7 separate regions of the Homo sapiens genome follow, and all the other regions are linked to region 2. The links are contacts of gene promoters, found by promoter capture Hi-C in blood cells and fetal thymus (Javierre and others, 2016). All regions are on one chromosome and are shown on one strand. Each heading gives the region's core, a stretch centred on a gene start or on the middle of the fragment in contact. The rest is flanking DNA. Distances are from core to core; before and after follow the strand shown. Region 1 overlaps TMEM87B (transmembrane protein 87B). Region 2 holds the start of POLR1B (RNA polymerase I subunit B). Region 3 has its middle 3.3 kb from the start of TMEM87B. Region 4 overlaps TMEM87B (transmembrane protein 87B). Region 5 has its middle 16 kb from the start of FBLN7. Region 6 holds the start of FBLN7 (fibulin 7). Region 7 overlaps ZC3H8 (zinc finger CCCH-type containing 8).

What was found. The method cuts DNA at HindIII sites, captures the fragments that hold promoters and counts their contacts. A CHiCAGO score of 5 or more calls a contact.
Region 1: a contact is called between a fragment that was not itself captured here and the fragment with the promoter of POLR1B in region 2, in 3 of 17 cell types (M2 macrophages, megakaryocytes and naive CD8 T cells). The highest score is 5.4, in M2 macrophages.
Region 3: a contact is called between a fragment that was not itself captured here and the fragment with the promoter of POLR1B in region 2, in 9 of 17 cell types (fetal thymus, total B cells, activated CD4 T cells and 6 more). The highest score is 10.8, in fetal thymus.
Region 4: a fragment that was not itself captured here is called in contact with the fragment with the promoter of POLR1B in region 2 in 1 of 17 cell types (naive CD4 T cells); the score reaches 5.2 in naive CD4 T cells.
Region 5: a contact is called between a fragment that was not itself captured here and the fragment with the promoter of POLR1B in region 2, in 6 of 17 cell types (fetal thymus, total CD4 T cells, erythroblasts and 3 more). The highest score is 6.7, in fetal thymus.
Region 6: the fragment with the promoter of FBLN7 here is called in contact with the fragment with the promoter of POLR1B in region 2 in 2 of 17 cell types (non-activated CD4 T cells and fetal thymus); the score reaches 5.8 in non-activated CD4 T cells.
Region 7: a contact is called between a fragment that was not itself captured here and the fragment with the promoter of POLR1B in region 2, in 2 of 17 cell types (fetal thymus and total B cells). The highest score is 5.4, in fetal thymus.

The regions. Positions count from the first base shown.
Region 1 is chr2:112,077,651-112,081,236 of GRCh38, forward strand. TMEM87B (transmembrane protein 87B) reads left to right here. Exons shown (of 19, transcript NM_032824.3): 7 at 3,407-3,468. Among named protein-coding and RNA genes, the nearest start is that of TMEM87B, 24 kb to the left of the region's middle. The HindIII fragment of the contact is 2,140 bases long and covers 930-3,069 here.
Region 2 is chr2:112,541,069-112,544,834 of GRCh38, forward strand. POLR1B (RNA polymerase I subunit B) reads left to right here and starts at 1,397. Exons shown (of 15, transcript NM_019014.6): 1 at 1,397-1,603. The coding sequence starts at 1,427. TTL (tubulin tyrosine ligase) reads left to right here. Exons shown (of 7, transcript NM_153712.5): 7 at 1-671. It overlaps LOC105373562 (a long non-coding RNA gene), which reads right to left and starts at 1,144. Exons shown (of 2, transcript NR_136321.1): 1 at 1,135-1,144; 2 at 588-1,010. RefSeq lists an enhancer at 1,280-1,429. The HindIII fragment of the contact is 8,470 bases long and covers 1-2,180 here.
Region 3 is chr2:112,050,224-112,053,714 of GRCh38, forward strand. No RefSeq gene overlaps it. Among named protein-coding and RNA genes, the nearest start is that of TMEM87B, 3.3 kb to the right of the region's middle. The HindIII fragment of the contact is 755 bases long and covers 899-1,653 here.
Region 4 is chr2:112,096,660-112,100,152 of GRCh38, forward strand. TMEM87B (transmembrane protein 87B) reads left to right here. Exons shown (of 19, transcript NM_032824.3): 12 at 385-493; 13 at 574-632; 14 at 1,936-2,039. Among named protein-coding and RNA genes, the nearest start is that of FBLN7, 40 kb to the right of the region's middle. The HindIII fragment of the contact is 5,541 bases long and covers 1-3,493 here.
Region 5 is chr2:112,120,209-112,123,896 of GRCh38, forward strand. No RefSeq gene overlaps it. Among named protein-coding and RNA genes, the nearest start is that of FBLN7, 16 kb to the right of the region's middle. The HindIII fragment of the contact is 9,145 bases long and covers 1-3,688 here.
Region 6 is chr2:112,136,503-112,139,854 of GRCh38, forward strand. It overlaps FBLN7 (fibulin 7), which reads left to right and starts at 1,883. Exons shown (of 8, transcript NM_153214.3): 1 at 1,883-2,228. The coding sequence starts at 2,154. The HindIII fragment of the contact is 8,502 bases long and covers 1,562-3,352 here.
Region 7 is chr2:112,245,648-112,248,901 of GRCh38, forward strand. All of the region lies in intron 2 of ZC3H8 (zinc finger CCCH-type containing 8), which reads right to left. Among named protein-coding and RNA genes, the nearest start is that of ZC3H8, 7.8 kb to the right of the region's middle. The HindIII fragment of the contact is 4,896 bases long and covers 1-3,254 here.

The DNA of each region.
Region 1 (3,586 bases), core at 750-3,249, 460 kb before region 2:
TCAGGGATTTAAGATTTTTATTATTTGACAAATTTTATTTTAAAGGATCTGTCTGTAGCCTAGGAGTAGAAGCAGCATATCTGCCAGCATGTGCTTCTGTGGTCTGTGAGGCACCCCCACCACTGTAAGTTAGACCCTCTGTGCCTTGTTAAGCTGTGGTTCCTTAGTGCCACAAAAGTAGACTTGCAATAAGCAGTTTTCAAGAGAATGAATGCTTTCCCATATTCTAGAATCACTTTGGCTGATGTTTTCCATAGTGGGTGTGTCTGCTGGGGCCAGCAGTAGCCAATCAGCATGTGAGGGCCCTGGGGATTTGATACTGCTCTGATTCAGCCAGTCAGCTGGCAGAAACCAATGAGGTGAGGTAGGCATTGCTGCAGAGGAGGCTCGGTCTGTTGTACTGCATGGCCCTTGGAGGGAAGCTGGCAAGGTGGCTGCTCTGGAAGAGTGTGAGGTAAGGCTTCCTTCTGGAGATGGCATCATGAGCCAGACTGTGCCAAGTAGAGGGAGCAGGGACCCTGATGCCATTCTGTCACCTATCTTAGTCTGTTTGTGCTGCTATAATAGAATACTTGACACTGGGTAATTTATAAAGAACAGAAATTTATTTCCCCACAGTTCTTGAGGCTGCGATGTCTAAGATCAAGGTGCCACCAAGTTTGGTGTCTGGTTAGGTCCCTGGTGTCTGCTTCCAAGATGGCACCTTAAACGATGTGTTCTCACATGGCAGAAAGGATAGAAGGGCAGGAAGCACAAAAGGGGACAACCACTCTGCTCTCACGGGGTGGAGGCAGAAGAGCAAAGAAGGGCCTAAGCTAGTTCCCTCCAGGCCTTTTGTAAGGCATTAATCTATTCATGAGGACAGAGCCCTCATGACTTAATCACTTCCCAAAAGGCCTCACCTCTTAATACCACCACAGTGGGTATGAAGCTTTAATGAATTTTTGAGGACATTCAGACCATAGAACTAGGCTTGTGCCCACTTCTTTCCCAGGCATTGTGTCTTTTCCCCTGACACCAGCGGGCAGTTTTGAGCCCCTGCTAATTAGTAGCTGGAGCTGTCACTGAGCCCTGCATGTTTTGCACTGTACTCGGCACATGGTTTATTATTGCTATCTCAGACAAAACCCAACCTAGATGTGTGAGTTTGGTAATTTATTCCAAGTTACGTCAAGGAAGATAAGGTCCCGGTGAGATGAGTAAATTAGCAAGGGGGCCAGTCTGAGGTCTTGTTTGGTAGCTGGGACTACTGTGCTCTTGTATATGATCAGATTTGGCACAGGTTTTTAGAATAGCGTGTATACAAGTAGAGGGATCTCTTTTTTTCTTTTTATTGTAAATTGACAATTACATATGACATAAATGTATGGGGTACAAAGTAATGTTATAATCTATAAATACAGTGTGGAATAATTAAGTCAAACTAGTTAACATACTCATCACCCCAAATGCTTAACATTTTTTGTGGTGAGAACATTTGAAATGTACTCTCTCAGCAATTTTGAAACATACAGTACTCTGTTAACTATTCACCATGCTGTGCAATAGAACTCAAAAAAAGAAAAAACTTACTCCTCCTGTGTGAGATTTTTTTTTACCCTTGGACCATCATCTGCCCATGCCTCCTACCTCCCAGCCTCTGTACCCACCATTCTGCTCTCGTATTAGGAGTTCAATTGTTTTAGATTCCACATATAAGTGAAAATGTGCAGTATTTGTCTTTCTGTGCTTGACTCATTTCACTCAGCACAGTGTTTTCCAGTTCCATCCATGTTGTTGCAAATGACAGAATTTTCTTCTTTTTAAAGGCTGAATAGTATTTCATTGTGTATATATACACATTTTCTTCATCCATTCATCTGTTGATGGACACTTACCTTGATTCCATAACTTAGCTATTGTTCATACTGCTGCAGTGAACATGGGGGTGCAGACAGCTCTTTGACAAACTGATTTTAGATCTTTTGGGTAAATAGTAAAGTGGGATTACTGGATTATATGGTAATTCTGTTTTTAGTTTTTTGAGGACCTTCCATACTGTTTTTTATAATGGCTGTACTAATTGACATTTTCACAAAGCATCCCTTTTCTCCACATCTTCATCAGCACTTACTCTCTTTCATCTTTTTGATAAAAGCCATTCTGACAGGTGTGAAATGATATTGGGGTTTTAATTTGCATTTCTCTAATGACTAGTGATGTTGAGCATTTTTCATGTATTAATATCTTTTGCTCATTTATATGTTTTCTTTTGAGAAACATCTAGGTCCCTTGCCTTTTTTTTTTTTTTTTTTTTTGAGACAGGAGTTCGCTCTGTCACCCAGGCTGGAGTGCGGTGGCACGATCTCGGCTCACTGCAACCTCCACCTCCTGGGTTCAAGTGATTCTCCTGCCTCTGCTTCCCAAGTAGCTGGGATTATAGGTGCACGCCACCCCACCTGGCTAATTTTTCTGTTTTTATTAGAGACGGGTTTCACCATGTTGGTCAGGCTGGTCTCGATCCCCTGACCTTAAGTGATCTGCCCACCTTGGCCTCCCAAAGTGCTGGGATTACAGGTGTGAGCTGTAACGCCCAGCCCCTTGCCCATTCTTTTTTTTTTAATTTTTTTTATCTTTTTTTATTTTTTGAGACGGAGTCTTGCTCTGTCGCCCAGGCTGGAGTGCAGTGGCGTGATCTCGGCTCACTGCAAGCTCCACCTCCTGGGTTCACGCCATTCTCCTGCCTCGGCCTCCCGAGTAGCTGGGACTACAGGTGCTCGCCACCACGCCCGGCTAATTTTTTGTATTTTTAGTAGAGACGGTGTTTCACCGTGTTAGCCAGGATGGTCTCGATCTCCTGACCTCGTAATCCGCCCGCCTTGGCCTCCCAAAGTGCTGGGATTACAGGGGTGAGCCACCACGCCCGGCCTGCCCATTCTTTTAATTGGGTTTTTTGTTTTCTTGCTATTGAGTTGTTTGAGCTTATGTATTTTGGATATTAACTCCTTCTTGGATATATGGCTTGCTAATTTTATCTCCCAGTACCTAAGTTGTCTATGTCTACTGTTAATTGTTTCCTTTGTGCAAAGAAGCTTTTTATATTGATGTAATCCCATTTGTCTATTTTTGCTTTTGTTGCCCGTGCTTTTGGGATCAAATCCAAAAAATCATTGCTCAGACCAGTGTTATGTAGTGTTCTCCCTATGTTTTCTTCTAGCAGTTTTACAGTTTCTGGTCTTACAGTAAAGGTATCTTGGTAAGGTTACATAATCAAACAAATACTAATTGTCCAATACCATGTATGTGCTACATACAAATTCAGCATTTGTTAGTGTGGTTTGTATTCTTGGAGCCTTCTGGGAAATGAACTTACATTTAAAGATTTAAGACTGACTGTTAATTAACTCTCTCTTCTTCTCTATCCTAGTTTCTCTTTCTATGATTGGGCCTCATGGATATATCTCTGCATCAGATTGGCCCCTAATGATTGTGAGTATTTCTCATCATTTTTTCCTTTTTAAAAAATGAATTTTATACCCTAAGAGCTTTGTGGTAGTAATTCCTCAGTAGTTAATGCTTTGACATATCCTGTATTTCTGGTTCCAGA
Region 2 (3,766 bases), core at 147-2,646:
TGATTACATCGTATGCCTATATGAAAACATCTCATATACCTCATAAATATGCTAATTATGTACCCATAAATTTTTTTTTAAATCCTCATGACCTTGGATTACACAATGATGTCTTAGATATGATATAAAAAGACAGGCAACAAAAGAAAAAAACTACACTTCAAAATTAAAACGTTTTGCTTCAAAGGACACCAGCAAGAAAGTAAAAACCCACAGAATGGGAGAAAAATATTTGCAAATCATGGATCTGACAAGGACTAGTATAGGCTATATAAAGAACTACAACTACTCAGTTGGCCGGGCGCGCGCGGTGGCTCATGCCTGTAATCCCAGCATTTAGGGAGGCAAGGCGAGAGGATCACTAGAGGCCGGAAGTTCAAGACCAGCCTGTGCAACAGACTCCCGGCTCGAATTTTTTATAAAAAGTGATATAGGAATGAAAAGTACCAGCTGAACTAGGAAAGGGGAAGTTGACAGTAAGGAGGGACTATCAGGGGCAGGAGGATACTGGGTAGTGGTGGTTTAATTCATTGTTTTAATTGTGGTGATGGCTGCATGGTTGTATACATAGGTCAAAACTTAACGCGTACACTTTAAATGTGTGGTTTATTGTATGCCAGTTATAACGCAATATAGCTGTTAAACACAAACACAATAAAGTTGAAAAACCAGCAGGCATTCCCTGATTAATCAGTATTCTGGGGAGGTAAGGGGCTCACAGGAACGCAAAAGAAATTCAGGCTGTAAATCCAGTTGGACGCCCCGCTGCCCCATCCCCTCCATCCGGGACCGCCCGACTCCTCTCCCACCTCCTTCCCCAGGCCTCCCCCAGGCCTCCAGTCCGGAAGATGCGACGAGGTTAGCGGGGCCCGACCACTCCTTGGCTTCCCAGGGGTGAGCCTCGCGAGTTAGGAGTTGGGTAGAGAGTCAGCCCGGGGCCCGGCATCCGCTTTTTCGTTGAAGCAACGACTTTGGCCGGATGACTCCCCAGGGTCGGCATCAGCGTGGGACTGGGAACAGGTGAAGGGAAACAGAAGAGAGCCTGAGAAGACCGCTCTCCTCCGATCCTAATTGACTGAGCCAATGAGAGCCAAAGAGGTCACATGCTCAACTGGGCGGGGAGCGGGTTTCCACCTGCGGCATCTTTCGCGAGCGGGGAGATGAGTGGGGCGGAATATGGGAGAAAGGGAGGGCCCGCCACGCTCTGGCTGGACACGGCCTTAATCGGCCCGTTCACTCGACGTTTTTGGTTCTACGTTGACCCCGAGAAACCGAAACCGCAGGGCCTAGGGCGGGTGGAACGAGAGGGAACTACATTTCCCAGCAGGCTGCGGAAACGGGACTGCGGCCACTACTTCCGGCGTGTACCGAGAGACTGGCGTCCGGCGTGTACCGAGAGACTGGCGTCCGGTGTGCAGGTGGCCACATGGATCCTGGCAGCCGGTGGCGGAACCTGCCCAGCGGGCCTAGCCTAAAGCACTTGACTGACCCCTCTTATGGAATCCCGCGGGAACAGCAAAAGGCAGCGTTGCAGGAGCTGACGCGGGCGCACGTGGAGTCCTTCAACTACGCTGTGCACGAGGGTCTCGGCCTCGCGGTGCAGGTGAGCGCGGCGTCCGCCGGCGCCCTTGCCGCGGCGAGGCCAATCCCAGGGAGGTGGCTGGGAGGTCACAGTATGACCCCAGATGCATGTGCTCCTTGATCCTGACAGGCTTGGTGGGTAAGCGGGAGAGCACAACATGTTAAACAGGACGCGGTACTGGCCTTCGTGAGACTTGGAGTCGAGGCGTCTTAAGAGATGTATTCGTGATTCTGGAGTGAAAAGTGATTGTGAACCGTAGTTTGGACAGTTTCGGGGTGCTGTGAGAGTGAGGAAGTGGCTTATCTGGGGATGTGCTTCACAATGCACACGGCTTTATATCACTTGAAGACTTACCTCTCCAAAACGTACCTCGAAAGATCCCGAACGTATTTGTAGGTACAGTGTAATGTTCAAGGTTATCCTTCAGTTTCCTTCTCTTAGAGCTTTAAAGAGAGAAACTACTCGTCATTTGTTATGAATTAAGCAGGTGCCGAGGAAGGTATAAATGAGTCATGAAAGCAAGATTGAATCGAAAAGTGTAATTGCATTATTAGCGTAGAGTAATGGTAGCAGAATTCAAGTGAGTATGGTGGGGGAAAGCTTCGTTTAGTAAGCATCCCCAGTGTCTCCAGGCACTAGGCTCAGAGGATGTGGAGGAGGCAGTCCCGTGTACGAGACAGTTCATGCATTTAAGTGCTCCCTGTCGTGTTTGGGGGTTGAAGGGGTGAAGATAATGAAAGCAGTGCATGCCAATGTTCTTGAGAACTGCTCTGCCAAGGGATTGTGTGGGCTACTGCGGGAGCCTATGGGCGGCGCAACTAATCCAGGAGTTTGAGAAAGGGCAGGATTAGATGAGTTCAAGAAGTGAGAAACGTGCATTTCGTCCAGGGGAAGAGTAGAGCAGAGTCACATGCTTCGGGGACCCTACCTGTGGTTTTGTTGGGTAAGATTTGTGTTGTGGGAGATAGGGATACAGATAATGTGGAGAGCTTTGATTGCCAGTCTGATTCTTGAACTCTATTCGGCAAATAATATGGGAGCCATTAAGATTTATTGTTTAGAAAGACTAGAGGGGTGGGGGTTATTTGTATTGTGCCTGGATTGTTACAGTATCATGTCTGTGAGAAAAAATTCCTAATTAAAAGTTAATCGGGCTGGGTGCAGTGGCTCACACCTGTAATCCAGGACTTTGGGAGGCCAAGGCAGAAGGATGACTTGAGCCCAGGATTTCAAGACCAGCTTGGATAACATAGTGAAACCCCATCTCCACAAAAATTTAAAAATTAGTGGGGCATGGTGGTGCGCACCCAAGTAGCTGGTCCCAGCTACTCGGGAGGCTGAGGTGGGAGGATAAGTTGAACCCAGGAATTTGAGGCTGCAATGAGCTATGATTGTGCCGCTGCACTCCATCCTCGGTAACAGAGTGAGACCTGTCTTTAAAAAAAAAAAATCCAATTGAGAAATTTTAGAAAAGCACTAATTTAAAAATAAGCCAGTCGGCTGGGTGTGGTGGCTCTTGACTGTAATCCCTGCACTTTGGGAGGTCAAGGCGGGTGGATCACTTGAGGTCAGGAGTTCCAGACCAGCCTGGCCAACCTGGTGAAACCCCATCTCTACTAAAAAATACAAAAATTAGCCGGGCATGGTGGCACATGTCTGTAATCCCAGCTACTCAGGAGGCTGAGGCACGAGAATCGCTTGAACCTGGGAGGCGGAGGTTGCAGTGAGCCAAGATTGCACCACTGCATTCCAGCCTGGGTGACAGAGTGAGACTCTCCCAAAAAAATAAATACATAAATAAATAAACCAATTATATGTTAACATTTTTAAGAAAAATATTTTCCAAAGCAAAAAAGAAGTTAGATGAATTGCATTATTAAAAATCTTTTTAATGTCTGGCTTAATGAAAAGACAGCTGGATTCTCATGTCTGCTTGTGCATTCAGTCCCTTGTGATAATTGTTTTGGTTGAAGTAGATGAAGAAAATTTGGCCCTGCATAGAAAATGATGCCACAACTTAGCTAGGACTATAATAATATAGTATTTGAAAAAGTTCTGTAAAACACAGTAACATAAATAACTAATACTTATAAAGCCAAGGGAAAAAATAGTTATCATATTTTTTACTTACAAAACATAATTTTGCCAAGTTTCTTTGGAGTGAATTCCTCCTTTCTGTGAGTC
Region 3 (3,491 bases), core at 26-2,525, 490 kb before region 2:
AACTAAAATCAGTTTTGATTTAGGGAAGAAAAAGTTAAATGAAGGCAAATGGAAGTATGTGGAAAAGGTGCTTTATATGATACTCTCAAAATTTCTCATACAATCCAATATTTTAATTAAAAGCAATGAATCAAATGTACAGCTTTTTATGCAAAAATAGCATCTATTCATTTTTGGTGTTAGCCATACCCCAAAGTCTCTCATTAATAGCACTGAATTCAGGATCTCATGATACTTCGTGTTCTCAAATGCCTTTTCATTTCCCTGCACAGCAACCTCTGAACTGTGATTCAGTTTTATAACAGCTGCAATAAACTCCACTAGAGGAAGGACTGGTCTATTGATGGGGGCCTTTCAGTTCTAGCTTACAGTCAACTATTGCCAAATTTTTCCTTATTTGTTCTTTGGACAATTTTTGTTTGCTCCAGGATTTAATTTTTCAAATTAAAAATTATATGGTAGCTGTTTTGTTTGTTTGTTTGTTTGTTTTTCTAAATCCCATAAGACTCAAAAGAGAATGAGTAAAGCACTCTGGCAATCAGTTGACTATCAATCTATTTTTACCAAGTAATCATAAATTTTCCATCTGCTGTGGAGGACACCAAGTTGGATCCCTATATGGGATGTGAGAGGTGTGAGATACTCCCTTCCTTCTTCCTTCCTCCTCCTCCTTCTTAGAAAGGCATATAAATTTTATTAACATATATACAGGGAGAACCACAGAGTGATTACCCCCTTCTTTCTTAGTTTTGGAAATTTTTCTTTTGAAATGATTTCAGACTCAAAGAAAAGTTGCAAGAAGAATACAAAGAACTCCTGCATACTCTTCATTCAAATTGGTTTTATTAGATTATCTTGATAGATAGATAGAGATGGTATACATGTTATACATATATAAAGCTTATATATATAATATATAAAAAGTTTTTTGTAACCACCAAAGAATAAGTTCAGATGTGGTGCCCGCTTACCTTTAAATACTTCAGTGTGCTTTTCTCTAGAAAGAGGACCTTCTCTTAGTGTGATAACGGTGCCATTTTCACATTCAGGAAATTCACATTGACAATACCATTTTCTTAAAGTCCTTGTTCAAATTTCACCAATTGTCTAAAGAATTTTAATAGCAAAAACAATTTTTCTGGTGTAGGCTCCAGACTGCTAGGCCTATATGTCACATTTAGTTATCATGTCTCTTGGGTCTCCTTTAACCTCTAACTTCCTCAGCTGTTTCAAGAACCTGGCATATATATATATATATATATATATATATATATATATATATATATTTTTTTTTTTTTTTTTTTTTTGGTAAATTATACCAGCTAGTTACTTTGTAGAATGTCTTTCAATTTGGGTTGTCTGATGTTTCCTTGTGATTAGATTTAAGTATGTGAATTTTTTCCTCATTTCCTTGAATAGCTTGATTAGATGCATTTTTGCATTTTGGGCATGCATTTTTGGCAGGAATATCACAGAAGTCATGCTGTTTCTTTTCAGTTAATCAAATCATGATACATATCATGTCTGTTTGTCCCAATCCTTGTGGGATTAACCTTGATCATTAAGTTGGTGTCTGCCAGGTATCTCCACTGTATAATTACTGTTTTTCTCTTTGTAATTAATAAGTAATTTTTGGAAGATATTTCCTCATGAAGCTTTTGCCAACTAACTTTAGAATAGAATTGATGATTCTTTCTGAATCAATTTTAATTGTGATAGTTGCCAAATGGTGATATTTTAAATTTGTTATTCCTTCTGCATTTATTAGTTTTCCAACTGTAAGAAAGTGATTTTCTTTCCTATTTATGTAATCATTTATTTATTTATGTTAGTATAGACTCATGGATTCCTATTTGAGTCAATGAGTTACAATCCACTACTATCATTTTGGTGACCAAATTGTCCCAGATCTGGTAAGTGGAAGGGAGCTCCTTCAAACTGGCTCCTATGCCTTTTTGACGTGTCCTCATAATTTTTTACCCACTTCCTTACTTTCTGGCAAAACAAGATTCTCAAGTTCATCATGAATTTCTCTATTCCATTCCTGGGCTCAGCCACTTCTCCAAGGATCCCTGGTTTATTTTAGTGGAGAATGATATTTATAAAGCAAGATCTGGTGCTAGATGTACCTATTGCTACTGGGGTGTCGCTGCTTCTAGGTCCTCCTGGGAATCAGTGCAAGAAAATATAAACACACACACACACACACATATCTACATCTATTTATAAAACTAAATTTTAAAAATGAGTTCACACTGATATCATCAGTTGCAAGCCAGCATTATAGTTCATTCTAACCTTCCTCATTTTCCTTTTTTTTTTTTCCTTTTCTTGCTTTCTTTCTCTTTCTTTCTTTTTTTTGTTTGTGACAGGTTCTGACTCTGTCACACAGGCTGGAGTGCAGGGCTCACTGCAACTTTCGCCTCCCAGGCCCAAGTGATCCTCCCGCCTCAGCTTCTTTGAGTAGCCAGAACCACAGGCACGCCACCACACCTGGCTAATTTTTGTATTTCGTGTAGAGACAGGATTTCGCCATGTTGTCCAGGCTGGTCTCAAACTCCTGAGCTCAAACTATCCACCCGCCTTGACCTCCCAAAGTGCTGGGATTACAGGCGTGCCCAGCCACTGTAAACATCTTACGACCATGGGTGGTGACTGGCAAGAAATGTACCTTGCTAGTTTTAAGATGGAGTTATTTTTAAAATGGTGTCACCCTGGCTCTCCTATGCTCCTGTTTCCCAATTTGACAACCAACACGATCTTTCTGATCAGCTCATCCTTACTTAAAAACCATCATTGGGGCCGGGCGCGGTGGCTCACGCCTGTAATCCCAGCACTTTGGGAGGCCGAGGCAGGCGGATCATGAGGTCAAGAGATCGAGACCATCCTGGCTAACACGGTGAAACCCAGTCTCTACTAAAAAATATAAAAAAATTAGCCTGGCGTGGTGGCTGGCGCCTGTAATCCCAGCTACTCAGGAGGCTGAGGCAGGAGAATGGCGTGAACCAGGAAAGCGGAGCTTGCAGTGAGCCGAGTTCGCGCCAGTGCACTCCAGCCTGGGCGACAGAGCGCGACTCAGTCTCAAAAACAAAACAAAACAAAAAATCATTGCCTCTCCAGTGTTCTTAACTAAAGGTGCCATCTGCCTAACTTAATTTAGGAATGCCTGTATGTTTTGGTACTGTTTAAATATTCCCAGCTTTGCCACTCTCCGTCTCACACCAACATCCAGTCATCTGGAAGATCTTTCCATTCCTCCAGTTCTCTCGTAACTAAAACGATTTCAGACTTACCCCTCACTCCCACAGGTAACTCGCCCTTAACTCTTCTTGTAGAACTTAAATTTCATGTATTGTTCTCTCCTTCTGTCCCTCACTTACTTCCTAAATCTCTGGTGGATGTTCCCCTGTGGTCCTGTTACAGTTATTCTGACCTAAACAGAACTGATCACGTTGCTTACTGGGAAGATGCACATGCAATCTCTAGTGTAT
Region 4 (3,493 bases), core at 692-3,191, 440 kb before region 2:
ATAGGGCCAGAAAAGCACAAGCCAAATGGCATGTCACAATGTGATCTGTAAAGAGTGTCTCACTTAGAGGGGTTTTAGTGCGTGCACTGCTCTATCCCGTGTTGCGGGTGCATGGCATTGGTGGAACGCATCATGGGTCTTCCGTGTTTTTTCCTTGGAGTTTGTTTTCTTAGTTCAGACAATGGTAAATTGTAAAAGAAAATCTGTGATAAAGTATAATGATTGTACAATATTGGCCAAGATAACATTTTCTGTGTTTTCATTAGCTTCAAATTTTAGGAACTGTATTTAGCAGTACTGACTTTGGGAACATAGTAGAAGATTCTGTTTTTTTTTTTTAACCTCTTATTATTACTTGGAATGTTTTTCCTTAACTTTTTTCACATTTTTATTAGTTTGGCACAAACTATGAAGACCCTAAGGCTAAGAAAGAACACTGTGAAATTTTCATTATATAGACATTTTAAAAATACTCTGATCTTTGCTGTGCTGGGTAAGCTATTTAATTTTTCTTACAGTAAATTATCTTAGTATTGTTATATTCCTTCAAAGGTGACTTTTTGTGTGTTTCAGCTTCTATAGTGTTTATGGGGTGGACAACTAAGACATTTAGAATTGCAAAATGCCAATCAGTAAGTATAACCTTCCTATTTAAACAGTTATTTTTATTTATACTATTTTGTAGAATTTTGAACAATTTAGTTTATGCTTGCAAATAGAGGTGATTTTAATGGAGATTTATGTTTTTACTTTGAACTATTTTTTACAGAGTTATAAAAACTTTTGGCTGGGCGCGGTGGCTCACGCCTGTAATCTCAGCACTCTGGGAGGCCGAGGCAGGCGGATCACGAGGTCAGGAGATCGAGACCATCCTGGCTAACACAGTGAAACCCCGTCTCTACTAAAAATACAAAAAATTAGCGGGTGCCTGTAGTCCCAGCTACTGGGGAGGCTGAGGCAGGAGACTGGTGTGAACCCAGGAGGTGGAGCTTGCAGTGAGCTGAGATTGCACCACTGCACCCCAGCCTGGGCAACACAGCGAGACTCCATCTCAAAAAAAAAAAAAAAAAAAAAAAAACTTTTAACTCCTCCAAGTGAGTCTGAAAAAGTTCCTCCGAAATCTCCTTTTCCTATTATGCCCTTTTGTCAAGTTTTTTTTATATATTTTGAAAATAAATTCTCTTCCTGTATACCCTAACAGGAAATCCTTTTCTTCCTGCACACCATGAAATTGAGTGGTTTGTATCTAGATGGACTAGAAATCTTAAGACTGGCATGTTTCTAGGATCGTGTGTTCAGTATGGGCATTCGAGCGATGTTTTCTTTTTTTTTTTTGAGATGAGTCTCACTCCGTCAGCCAGTCTGGAGCGCAGTGGTGCGATCTCAGCTCACTGCAACCTCCGCCTCCCGGGTTGAAGCAATTATCTGCCTCAGCCTCCCGAGTCGAGTGATGTTTTCTATGGGTTCTCATGTTGGAAGAAGATATATTCTTAGACTTAGAATATGAAAGGTCCTCTTTTGGGGATTTGTTGAGATTTGGAGCTAGTCTCTAGTGCCATATAAATAATCACAAAAAGCCCTCTGAAAATCCAGAGCTTTTGCTGCCTTAGAGACAATTTAATAAAAGAAGAGGCTGGGCCTTCTGACCTTAGTATTTGCCATTTGAAATCCTAAGTATATGTTTTGCATCTTTTGATTTTGAAATCTTTCTGTTAACCCAAAAATTTTATGGCAGGGAATATTTGTAACATTAAACAACCCTTTAGAAACATTTTGAACAATATAGGTTTCTTGAAAAAATATGTGCTTGTTTATTTGGAAGACTTACTGGTTGGAAAGATTTCATTAGTACTTGTCATTGTACATTATTTGAATGGGAAACCTATATGCTTATCAGAAAATTAACGTTTCATGCTTGAATTGTCCTTCTTTTAGGATTGGATGGAACGCTGGGTTGACGATGCATTTTGGAGCTTCCTTTTTTCGCTTATCCTTATTGTAATCATGTTTTTGTGGAGACCATCAGCAAACAATCAGAGGTACCTAACATAGGAAATTTCAAGTCGTCAAGGATTTGTTGATCACCTTCTATAGTGTCAAGAACACGTTTATAGAAACCAGGAGAATAGTCGTTGCTTTTAAGGAGTATACAGTCAAGTAGGGAGATAAGCAAAACAAATGCAAGACAGTGAAAAAAGAGATGTATAGACTAGTCCAGGGGAAGATGGAAGAGGGTTGAGGAAGACTTCTTGAAGCGACAGCGCTTACATTACACCTTGAGGAAAGGAATAGGATAGCGAATGACTGAACTGGGAAAGAGTGTCCATTTTCTGGGGTGGTGGGAAAGGCATGAGATACTTTGGAGGCCAGTGAGACATGCAGTTTGGTTAATACCACATACTCATATTGGAGGGAGATCAAGCTGGAAGGGAGAAGTACGGCCAAAATGACAAAAGACTTGAGTGTCAAGTTCAGAAAGTTGTACTTGAGACTGCATGTGATAGGAAGCCTCAGCTTCCTTGCTTTATCCCTTTGCCCCAAGGAGAGAACTTAAGTTCTTGTCCATCCTTTAGGAAAAAATGAAAAAGTATGTACAGATTCAACATCCCAAATCCCAATCCAGAATGCTACAAAATCCAAAACTTTTTGAGCACGGACAGGATACTCAAAGGAAGTGCTCATTGGAACATTTTGAATTTCAGATTTTCAGATTTGGGATGCTCAACTGGTAGGGATAATGCAAATGTTCCAAAATCTGAAAACATCCAAAACTCAAAACACTTCTGGTCTCAGGCATTTTGCATAAAGGCTACTCAACCTGTATCAGTGTGTTTCTCCTGTCCTTTTTAAAATTATACAATAATACATATATATATATATATATATATATATATATACACACACACACGCATATACATACACATACTGTTCTGTACCTTCCTGTTTAAGGTCACGCCTATAATCCTAGCACTTTGGGAGGCCAAGGTGGGTGTATGACTTGAGCCCAGGAATTCGAGACCAGCCTGGGCAACAAGGCAAAACCCTCTTTCTACAAAAAAATACAAAAATTAGCCAGGTGCGGTGGTATGTGCCTGTACTCCCAGCTACTTGGGAGGCTGAGGTGGGAGGATGGCCTGAGCCCAGGAGGTGGAGGTTGCAGTGAACTGAGATCATGCCGCTGCTACTGCACTCCAGCTTGGGCAACAGAGCCAGACCCTGTCTCAAAAAAAAAAAAAAAAAACCACAAAAAAAACAACTATCTTTCCATATCAGCATGTATAGATCTACCACATTACTTTTAATGGTTTTATGGCATTTTATAACATGAATGTAATATAATTTATATAAGCAGTCCCTGGTTATTAGACATTTTGTTTAAAAAATAGATTTTTGCTATTATCAATAATGTTTTCAGAATGCTGTTGGACATCATCTTGGCAAACTTTTGTTAGTGTAATGTAAGGTAAATGAATTTTTACTTTAATGGCTATTG
Region 5 (3,688 bases), core at 200-2,699, 420 kb before region 2:
GCCGGGCGTGGTGGCGGGCGCCTGTAGTCCCAGCTACTCGGGAGGCTGAGGCAGGAGAATGGCGTGAACCCGGGAGGCAGAGCTTGCAGTGAGCTGAGATTGGGCCACTGCACTCCAGCCTGGGCGACAGAGCGAGACTCCGTCTCAAAAAAAAAAAAAAAAAAAAAGTAGAGAAAGGATTGAGTGGAAAAGCACTGGGGTGGCATACATGGTTAGTGTTGAGGCTCAGCCAGGCTGTGGTCACAACTTGATTTTAGCCTTTCAGAAACTTAAGACAAAAAGTTTATTTCTTGCTCATGTGACAATTCTTCAGTAGGTATAGAGGTGGGAAGGGCCACCCTCCTCCACATGTCCCTCAGACACCCGGGGTTTATTTCCATCTTGCGGACCCACCATACCCTAGGGCCTAATTTTTACCCCTAATTTTCTAAGAAACATATTCAACATAAATATGTAAAAATAATAGTGCCTTGGCCAGGCGCAGTGGCTCACACCTGTAATCCCAGCACTTTGGGAGGCCGAGATGGGTGGGTCACGAGGTCAGGAGATCGATACCATTCTGGCTAACACAGTGAAACCGCATCTCTACTAAAGATAGAAAAAAATTAGCTGGGCATGGTGGCAGGCACCTGTAGTCCCAGCTACTCGGGAGGCTAAGGCAGGAGAATGGCGTGAATCTGGGAGGCGGAGCTTGCAGTGAGCCGAGATTGTGCCACTGCACTCCAGCCTGGGCGACAGAGCGAGACTCTCAATAATAATAATAATAATAATAATAATAATAATAATAATAGTGCCTTAGACTATGTATCAGAAAATCTAGAAAAGTGTGTCTTGGTTCACAGCTTAATCTTAATTAATTTAAAAAATCCATCTTGCTGTAAGTAGATGGGACATGGAGAATTTTCTTCATGGACATTCTCCCACCTTTGACATGTGAGGAGTGAGAGGGACAAGATGGATAGTCCCAGAGGGAAAGGAAGGGCTGTTGTCATAAGACTGATGACCATTTTGGCAGACTTGGGAGCACTTGCAGAGTGCCAGGCTTTGGTAACCACTGTATTCTCACAGTAGCCAATGAAGTATTAGTTCCCTTGGTTCATAGATTAGAAAACTGAGAGAGAGGTTAAATAATTTGATAGTTTACCATCCTGGCAGGTGGCAAGGCTGGTATAATACTGGTGGGAATCATCCTAGAAGGGTTGTCCTCGAAGTCCTGAGGAGAGAGGAGTTTCGGTTAACAAAGTGCTGTTTGCTTGTTAGAGAAGGTTAAGTAAGACAATGTATCTAAAGTGCCTGGTGCATAGCCTTCAGGAGGCAGCTAAGGTTAATGTGAAAGGTACAGCAATGATTGAGGGGTGACTGAGACTCAATTGAAACAAATGGCATATGAAATTCAAACACATTCCAGGATTGATTCACTTGTATTAAGATGAAGTTACCCAGAGCAAGTTTTATGCCCCTTAAGTGATAGGGAATGTACAGCTACATTAACAGAGGTGACCTGATATTTACATCTGGTCAGAGGCTGACCTGATTTATATCTGATTTCAGATGTAAATAATTTTGACAGTATTTCCTTAAAATCATTTTGAAAAAACAAGAAGCTGCAATGGAAGTTTATGCACAGGAAAAAATGTGAAAGCTATCCAGCAGGTGGTGCCAAAGTAATGTCTCTTGAAGAGTTCTAATCTTTTTTTCTTTTCTCTAATTCTTCCCTTTACAGATTTTATAAATTTACTTACCAAATGCCACTAAACAAATTTGGGGATGAAGAAAAAAACTTAAAAATAATTCACACAGCACTGCCCTGGAAAAACAGTTATTTTGGTATATTTTAAAACTTTAAAGCTGGAAAGAGCCTCTAAGATCATCTTACAAATGAGGAAATGGAGGACCAGGAAAGTGTCACTGGCTACAGTTCCCTCAGACCAGGGTTGAAGACTGCCTCCTAGTTTGTTTTTCTCACCTCTGGTCCTTATTGTCAGGGGGAAAGAGATGCCACAGAAGGGTTGGACTGGGCATCAAAACTTGAAATACATTTTATATACTTTGGTGACCACTTGCTACGTCATTTCATATGACTTCATTGTCTTTTCAGCTTCCAAATTCTTGTTTCTACATGGTCATAATTCCAGTTCTCTGTTTCTTCATTTGATAAGTGGAGATTTTCTTGGGGTTCAGTGGAGTCTGCTGGAAAGGCTTGTCTTTATTTGACCTGAGTCACAGCTTTCCCAGTGCTAAATGCCTCTTTCCAGGGGATACTTATTAAAAATATTCACAGGCATGTTTTTTAATGTCACAGCTGCCTAAAGCAAAAAATAACATTCAAAGCAAACAACAGACTGACCAAAAACCTTAAAAGGAAAGTCTAAAGAATGAGATGACCATAAGGCCTTTGAAAAACCTTCAACATACTTACAGGAATCTAAAAGGTCACATGCATGCATAGGGCTCTGCATGCTCAGCAAAGACCACAAACAAGAAGTGAAGGCTAAGGCAGAGTTAGTTGTAAACTGCCTGAATGAGTGCTGAAGGTGTGCCCCACCATACACACAAGCACCTCGGCAAAGACTGGGAGATTTACTGGTTCCGAGAGGTTAAGAAAGTCTCTGTCCAATAATTGTCTAACCATTACATAACTGAGTAGAGACTTCAGTGACCACATATCACAAAATATACAGACTTTACGGAATTAGTTTAGAGAACTCACTAAACAACTACTACAACAAGTAGTAACAACAGCAAACCATTGAAGGGGAAGGAACTGGTTTTCAGAGTTACCACATTATATTATTTAAAATGTCTAGTATTTACCAAAAAATTATGACATAAGCAAAGAAATGACAGTGTATCTCTCACAAGAAAAAAAAGAGCATCAAAACAAAATGTTCCTGAGAAAGACCAGATGTTTGACTTACTAGACAAAAACTGTAAGCTGTTTTGTAAGTATTCAATGAGCTAAAAAAGTATAAATGCAAAAGTATGAGAATGATGTTTGACCAAATAATGTCAATAGAGATAGCAATGATAAAAATGAACCAAATGAAAATTCTTATATTGAAAAGTACAATAACTGAGACAAAACATTTATTAGAGGGTGCTCAAGAGCAGATCTGAGCAGGTAGAAGAAAATCAGTGAATCTGAATATAGGTCAATTGAGATTATTCAGTGTGAGGAACAAAAAGAAGATAGAATGAAGAAAAATTAACAGAATCTCAGAGACCTGTGGAACAACCTCAAGCATACAGACACACACGGTGAGAGTACGAGAAGAAGAAGAGAGAGGAAGAAAAATACTTGAATAAATAGTGGTTGAAAACTTTTCAAACTTGACAAAAAACAGTCTACCTAAGCAGAAAGATTAGCAAACTCCAAATAAGATAAACTCAAAGAGATCTGTACTGAAACATCATAATCAAATGATGGAAAACCAGAACCAAAGATGGAGTTTTGAAAGAGAGAAGTGACTCATTGCCTAGTAAAAATCCTCTGTAACATTAACAACTAATTTTTCCCCCTCAGAAACTATGGTGGTAAGAAGGCAATGGGATGATATATTTAAAGTACTGAAAGAAAAACCGTCAGTCAAGAATTCTATATCCAAGCAAACTATCCATTCAACATGAATAGAAATACAGACAGTTGAGATAAAAACTGAATTTGTTGTTAGTAGTTTTGCCATGCAAG
Region 6 (3,352 bases), core at 633-3,132, 400 kb before region 2:
TATTAATAAATGCAGCCACACTGACCAGGAGGAAGCTTTTCAAGGATAGGGCAGAGGACAGAGAGACAGAGAGGGAGCAGGGCACTGGCTTTTGGTACAGACAGCAAACACATGAGAGATCGAGGCAGAAAACCACCATCTCCACAGGCTGCCCTGGATCGGGCCATGCTGTCCCGTCCTCTCCACCTGGATAGGGAGAAGCAGGGGTATGACCATGTCTCTCTTCAGGATGTTCAACCAGGAATGCAAAATAAAATTACATGGATCCCTTGCAGGCTGCAGTGGCTCACACCTATAATCCCAGCACTTTGGGAGGCTGAGGCGGGTGGGTCATTTGAGGTCAGGAGTTCAAGACAAGCCTGGCCAACATGGTGAAAACCTGTCTCTACTAAAAATACAAAAATTAGCTAGGCGTGGTGGTGCATGCCTGTAGCCCCAGCTGCTTGGGAGGCTGAGGCAGGAGAATTACTTGAACCAGGGAGGCAAGGCTGCAGTGAGCTGAGATCAGGCCACTGCACTCCAGCCTAGGCAACAGAGCAAGACGCCGTCTCAAAGAAAAAAAAGATTTACATGGGTCCCGTTCCACCTCCTTTGCATGGGAAGGTTGGGGGAGCAGCACTGTAGGATTTCCTGGGCAACCAATGCCCAGGAGGCCAGCCTAAACCATGTCCCCTGCTTTTTGGGGCACTGGCTAGGTTCTGAATGTTGGTGTCTCCCCTAAATTTATATGTTGGAAACCTCATTCCCAAGATGATGGCATTAGGAGGTGGGACCTTTGGGAGGTGACTAGGTCATGAGTGCAGAGCCCTCAAAATTGGGATTAGTGCCCTCAGAAAAGAGGCCCCAGAGAGCTGCCTTTCCCCTGTGAGGACACGGGAACCAGAACTCTGGCCCTCGCCAAACACCTAATCTATTGACACCTTGATCTTGGACCTCCCAGTCTCCAGAACTGTGAGAAACACGTTCTATTGTTTATAAGCCACTCAGTTTATGGTATTTTGCTATAGCAGTTTGAAGGGACTAAGCCAGGACTCCAGCTTTCCTTTCTGGCCTCTGCTGGGAAACAGCTCCTGCTCTGTGGTCACAGTCTTGTGGGCTCCCCGTTCCCTGAGCTCTGAGTGGGCTCAACAAAGTGAAATGTGGAAGAGGAAAAAGAGATCTGGGGCTTGACCAGACTTGTGTGTCCCAGGACATCTGCAGTGACTGCCTTCAGAAAACCTTCCAGGAAGAACGTCAGTCATGCCTTCCGGGAGCTCAGGTCTGAGGCATCTGGTTGTACCACAGCCCTGATGGCAGGGGACTTCAGACTGCTCATGCCGGCCTGGCACTTCCTGATTCGACTTCAGCAAGGCAGGCAATGTTCTAGAACCTGACCTCCGATTTAAACTGAGTTTCTCCTTCCCTTGAGCAAGGAGGACAGTGAATCAGAAGGACGTAGATCCCCTCACTGTATCACTGTGTGTGTATCTACTCACTGTGCGTGCGTGTTCTCACGGCCCCATTGCATTATTTAAAGGGACACTAGTTTATTCGGATGGAGAGCTCAGTCCACCCCACGTCAAGCTTATGAAGCCCATTTCCTGGCCCCCTTCTAGGAATGTCGGGAGGAGGGTGTCGCGTGGGCTTTGAAGTAGGACAGACCTGGGTTTGGGTTTCTGTTCTGCCACTTGTCCTTGGTGACTGAGCCTCAGTCTACTTGGTTGGGAAATAGGACGGTCGGGAGTGAACCCGCCCAGGGTGGGCTTCCAGTCACCCGCACATATGCGGGGCACTGGCCGCCCATCCCTGCCAGGCCCCGAGGATGCCCGCGCTCGTCCTCGGCGTCGCGGGTTGGGCGCGCTCCCGGGCGCATTCCCGGCCGGGCAGCCCCTCCTCCCTCGTCCTTAGCCCAGGGGCCGGCGCCTCCCCGCCTCGCGCGGACTGTCTCGTGCGGGCAGCTGCGGGCGCACCTGGACCCTCGCAAGGCCCGGGCGGCGCCGATCCCCGCGGGACGCGCTGCGCTCGGGGCCTCCCGCCTCCCCCCCTGCCCCAGCCGCCCCCCGGCCGCGCGGCGCCCCGCACCCTGCAGGGACGGCTGCCGCATCGCTGGGACAAACTCGGCAGCGGAGGCAAAGTTATTTCCCCTCCCAGGCAGCGGGATTCCGACTGGCAAGATGGTGCCCAGCTCTCCGCGCGCGCTCTTCCTTCTGCTCCTGATCCTCGCCTGCCCCGAGCCGCGGGCTTCCCAGGTCAGTGTCCCTCCCGCCTCTCTCCAGGCCAGTGTCCCTCCCGCCTCTCTCCAGGCCAGTGTCCCTCCCGCCTCTCTCCAGGCCAGCGTCCCTCCCGCCTCTCTCCCCTGTCCCTCCCGCCTCTCTCCCCTGTCCCTCCCGCCTCTCTCCAGGTCAGTGTCCCTCCCGCCTCTGTCCCCTGTCCCGCGCGCCTCTCTCCACGCCAGTGTCCCTCCCGCCTCTCTCCAGGCCAGCGTCCCTCCCGCCTCTCTCCAGGCCAGCGTCCCTCCCGCCTCTCTCCAGGTCAGCGTCCCTCCCGCCTCTCTCCAGGCCAGCGTCCCTCCCGCCTCTCTCCAGGTCAGCGTCCCTCCCGCCTCTCTCCAGGCCAGTGTCCCTCCCGCCTCTCTCCAGGCCAGCCAGTGTCCCTCCCGCCTCTCTCCACGCCAGTGTCCCTCCCGCCTCTCTCCAGGCCAGTGTCCCTCCCGCCTCTCTCCAGGCCAGTGTCCTTCACGCCTCTCTCCAGGTCAGTGTCCCTCCCGCCTCTCTCCAGGCCAGCGTCCCTCCCGCCTCTCTCCAGGTCAGCGTCCCTCCCGCCTCTCTCCAGGCCAGCGTCCCTCCCGCCTCTCTCCACGCCAGTGTCCCTCCCGCCTCTCTCCAGGTCAGTGTCCCTCCCGCCTCTCTCCAGGCCAGTGTCCCTCCCGCCTCTCTCCAGGCCAGTGTCCCTCACGCCTCTCTCCAGGTCAGTGTCCCTCCCGCCTCTCTCCAGGCTAGTGTCCCTCCCGCCTCTCTCCAGGCCAGCGTCCCTCCCGCCTCTCTCCAGGTCAGCGTCCCTCCCGCCTCTCTCCAGGCCAGCGTCCCTCCCGCCTCTCTCCACGCCAGTGTCCCTCCCGCCTCTCTCCAGGCTAGTGTCCCTCCCGCCTCTCTCCAGGCCAGCGTCCCTCCCGCCTCTCTCCAGGTCAGCGTCCCTCCCGCCTCTCTCCAGGCCAGCGTCCCTCCCGCCTCTCTCCACGCCAGTGTCCCTCCCGCCTCTCTCCAGGTCAGTGTCCCTCCCGCCTCTCTCCACGCCAGTGTCCCTCCCGCCTCTCTCCAGGCCAGTGTCCCTCCCGCCTCTCTCCAGGCCAGTGTCCCTCCCGCCTCTCTCCACG
Region 7 (3,254 bases), core at 543-3,042, 300 kb before region 2:
CATCTCAAAAAGCAATGTGCATGATGAAGCAACAAGTGCTGATGTAAAAGCTGCAAATTATCCAGAAGATCTAGCTAAGATCATTGATGAAGGTGGCCACACTAAACAACAGATTTTCAATGTAAATGAAACAGCCTTATGTTGGAAAAAGATGCCACTTGGGACTTTCATAACTAGAGAGAAGTCAATACCTCACTTCAAAGAATACCCTGACTTCACCACTACAATCTATGCATGTAACAAAATTGCACTTGCACCCCGTAAATTTATACAAATAAAATACTTTAAAAGGCTTCAAAAAGATAGGCTAACTCTTGTTAGGAGCTAATGCAGCTGGTGACTTTAAGTTGAAACCAATGCTCATTTACCAGTCTGAAAATTCTAGGGCCCTTAAGAATTATGCTAAATATACTCTGCCTGTGCTCTATATATGGAGCAACAGAGCCCAGATGGCAGTATATCTGTTTACAGCATGGTTTACTGACTATTTTAAGCCCACTGTTGAGACCTACTGCTCAGAAAAAATATCCTTTTCAAAATACTACTGCTCATTGACAATGCACCCAGTCACCCAAGAGCTCTGATGGAGATGAATGTTTTCATGTCCACAAACACAACAACCATTCTGCAGCTTATGGATCACGGAATAATTGACTTTCAAGTCTTATTTAAGAAATAAATACAAAATACACTTTTTAAGGTTATAGTAGCCATAGAAAGTGATTTCTCTGATGGATCTGGGCAGAGTAAATTGAAAACCTAGAAAGGATTCACCATTTTAGCTGACATTAAGAACATTCGTGATTCATGGCAGAAGGTCAAATATCAACAATAACAGGAGTTTGAAAGAAGGTGATTGCAACCCTCAGGGATGACTTTGAGGAGTTCAAGACTTCAGTAGACGAAGTAATTGCAGGTGTGGTGGAAAAGCAAGAGAACTAGAATTAGAAGTGGAGAATGAAGACGTGACTGAATTGCTGCAACTTCATGATCAAACTTGAACAGATGAGGAGCTGCTTCTTACAAGTGAACAATGTGGTTTCTTGAGATGCAATCTATTTCTGGTGAAGATGCTATGAACATTGTTGAAATGACAACAGATTTAGAATATTATATAAACCTAGTTGATAAAGCAGTGGCAGGGGTTGAGAGGATTGACTCCAATTTTGAAATTTTTACTGTGGGTAAAATGCTATCAAACAGCATCACATACTACAGAGAAATATTTTGTAAAAGGAGAAGTCAATTGAGGTGACAAACTTTACTGCTGTCCTATTTTAAGAAATTGCCAGAGCCACCTCAGTGTTTAGCAGTCACCACCCTCAGCAGCTATCAACACTGAGGCAAGACCCTCTGCCATCAAAAAGATGACTCGCTGACTGTTAACATTTTTTAGCAACAAAGAATTTTTAATTAAGATATATACTGTTTTCTAAAATATAATGGTATTGGACACCTAACAGAGTACTGTATAGTATAAATGTAACTTTTATATGCACTGGGAAACCAAAACATTCTTGTGCCTAGCTTTACTGCAATATTTGTTTTATTGTGGTGGTATGAAATCAAACCCTCAAAATCTGAGGTAATGCTCTTTCTTAACTTGCAAAGTGTTTACCTGGGTATTCTCTTTTAAATAAGCTATAGCCAGCCATGGTGGCTCACACCTGTAATCCCAGCAGTTTGGGAGGCTGAGGCGGGCCAATCACTTGAGCTCAGGAGTTCGAGACCAGCCTGGCCAACATGGCAAAAACCCATCTCTACTAAAAATACAAAAATTAGCCAGGCAAGGTGGGTGACAGGCACCTGTATTCCCAACTACTCGGGAGGCTGAGGCAGGAGAATTGCTTGAACCTGGGAGGTGGAGGTTGCAGTGAGCCAAGATTTTGCCACTTTACTGCAGCCTGTGCAACAGAGTGAGACTCTGTCTCAAAAATAAATAAGTTAATTAATTAATTAGCTGTGATATTTATTTGATAATGTATTCACCTTTTACATACTTGTGAGTGAAGAGGCTGCACTGAAGCAAGCCTGGTTGAGAATAACCTAGGAGTCCATCTTCTCACAGTACTGTTTTGCAGAAACTATGTAAGACAGTTGTAGAATGTTGTTTCTGCCTGTCTGCTGTGGAAGGTTATAATATATAATACGAAGTCTGGAGGAGCTAAAAGTGGGCATAAAAGACTGAGGCCTATGTGACTCAAGCAGTATAAAAAACTTGTGGGAAGTTGAAGTTGCAATTTCTTGTCGTCAACCTTGGCTCTCATCTTTGGAAGCCACATAGGCCCCAAAGGGGAAAAGAAGTTGCTTACTTGGGTAGCTGAGAGGCTTCCAAGAAGATGAAGATACTGTACCTGCTTTATCATCTGTCCTGTATTCTTTTATAAAACTAAGGAGGCTGGGCATGGTGGCTCACACCTATAATCCTAGCACTTCGGGAGGCCGAGGCTGGCAGATCACTTGAGCTCTGGAGTTTGAGACCAGCCTGGGCAACATGATGAAACCCTGTCTCTGCTAAAAATACAACAATTAGCCAGGTGTGGTGGCGTGTGCCTGTAGTCCCAGCTACTCGGGAGGCTGAGGTGGGAAAACTGCTCGAACCCAGGAGAAGGAGGTTGCAGTGAGCCAAGATCATGCTACCACACTCCAGCCTGGGCAACAGAGACAGAAAGAAAAGAAAGAAAGAAAGAAAAGAAAGAAAAAGAAAAAGAAAAGGAAAAAAAGAAAGAAAGAAAAAGAAAAAGCAAGCAAGCAAGAAAGCTAAGTAAAAGATACACTATTAAAGTCTATTTCTGTCTTATAAGTCTCAGTGACAATTTAACCCATTCTTCTATAGTGTGTTAAAACTCATTTTTTTTTTGAGATGGAATTTTGCTCTTGTTGCCCAGGCTGGAGTGCAATGGCATGATATCGGCTCACCGCAACCTCTGCCTCCCGGGTTTAAGCGATTCTCCTGCCTCAGCTCCCTGAGTAGCTGGGATTACAGGTGCCTGCCACCATGCTTGGCTAATTTTGTATTTTTAGTAGAGATGGCGTTTCTCCATGTTCAAAAACAGAAAAGAAGGGCAAGATAGGAATATACATTACCTTTGTTATGGGTTGAACTGCACCCTCCCAAAATTCTTATAATGAACTACTAACCCCTAATACCTCAGAATGTGACCTTTTTTGGAAATAGGGTCATTGCAAGTGTAATTAATTAAGATTAGGTCATTAGGGTGGGCCCTAGTCCAGTGACTGATTTCCTTATAAAA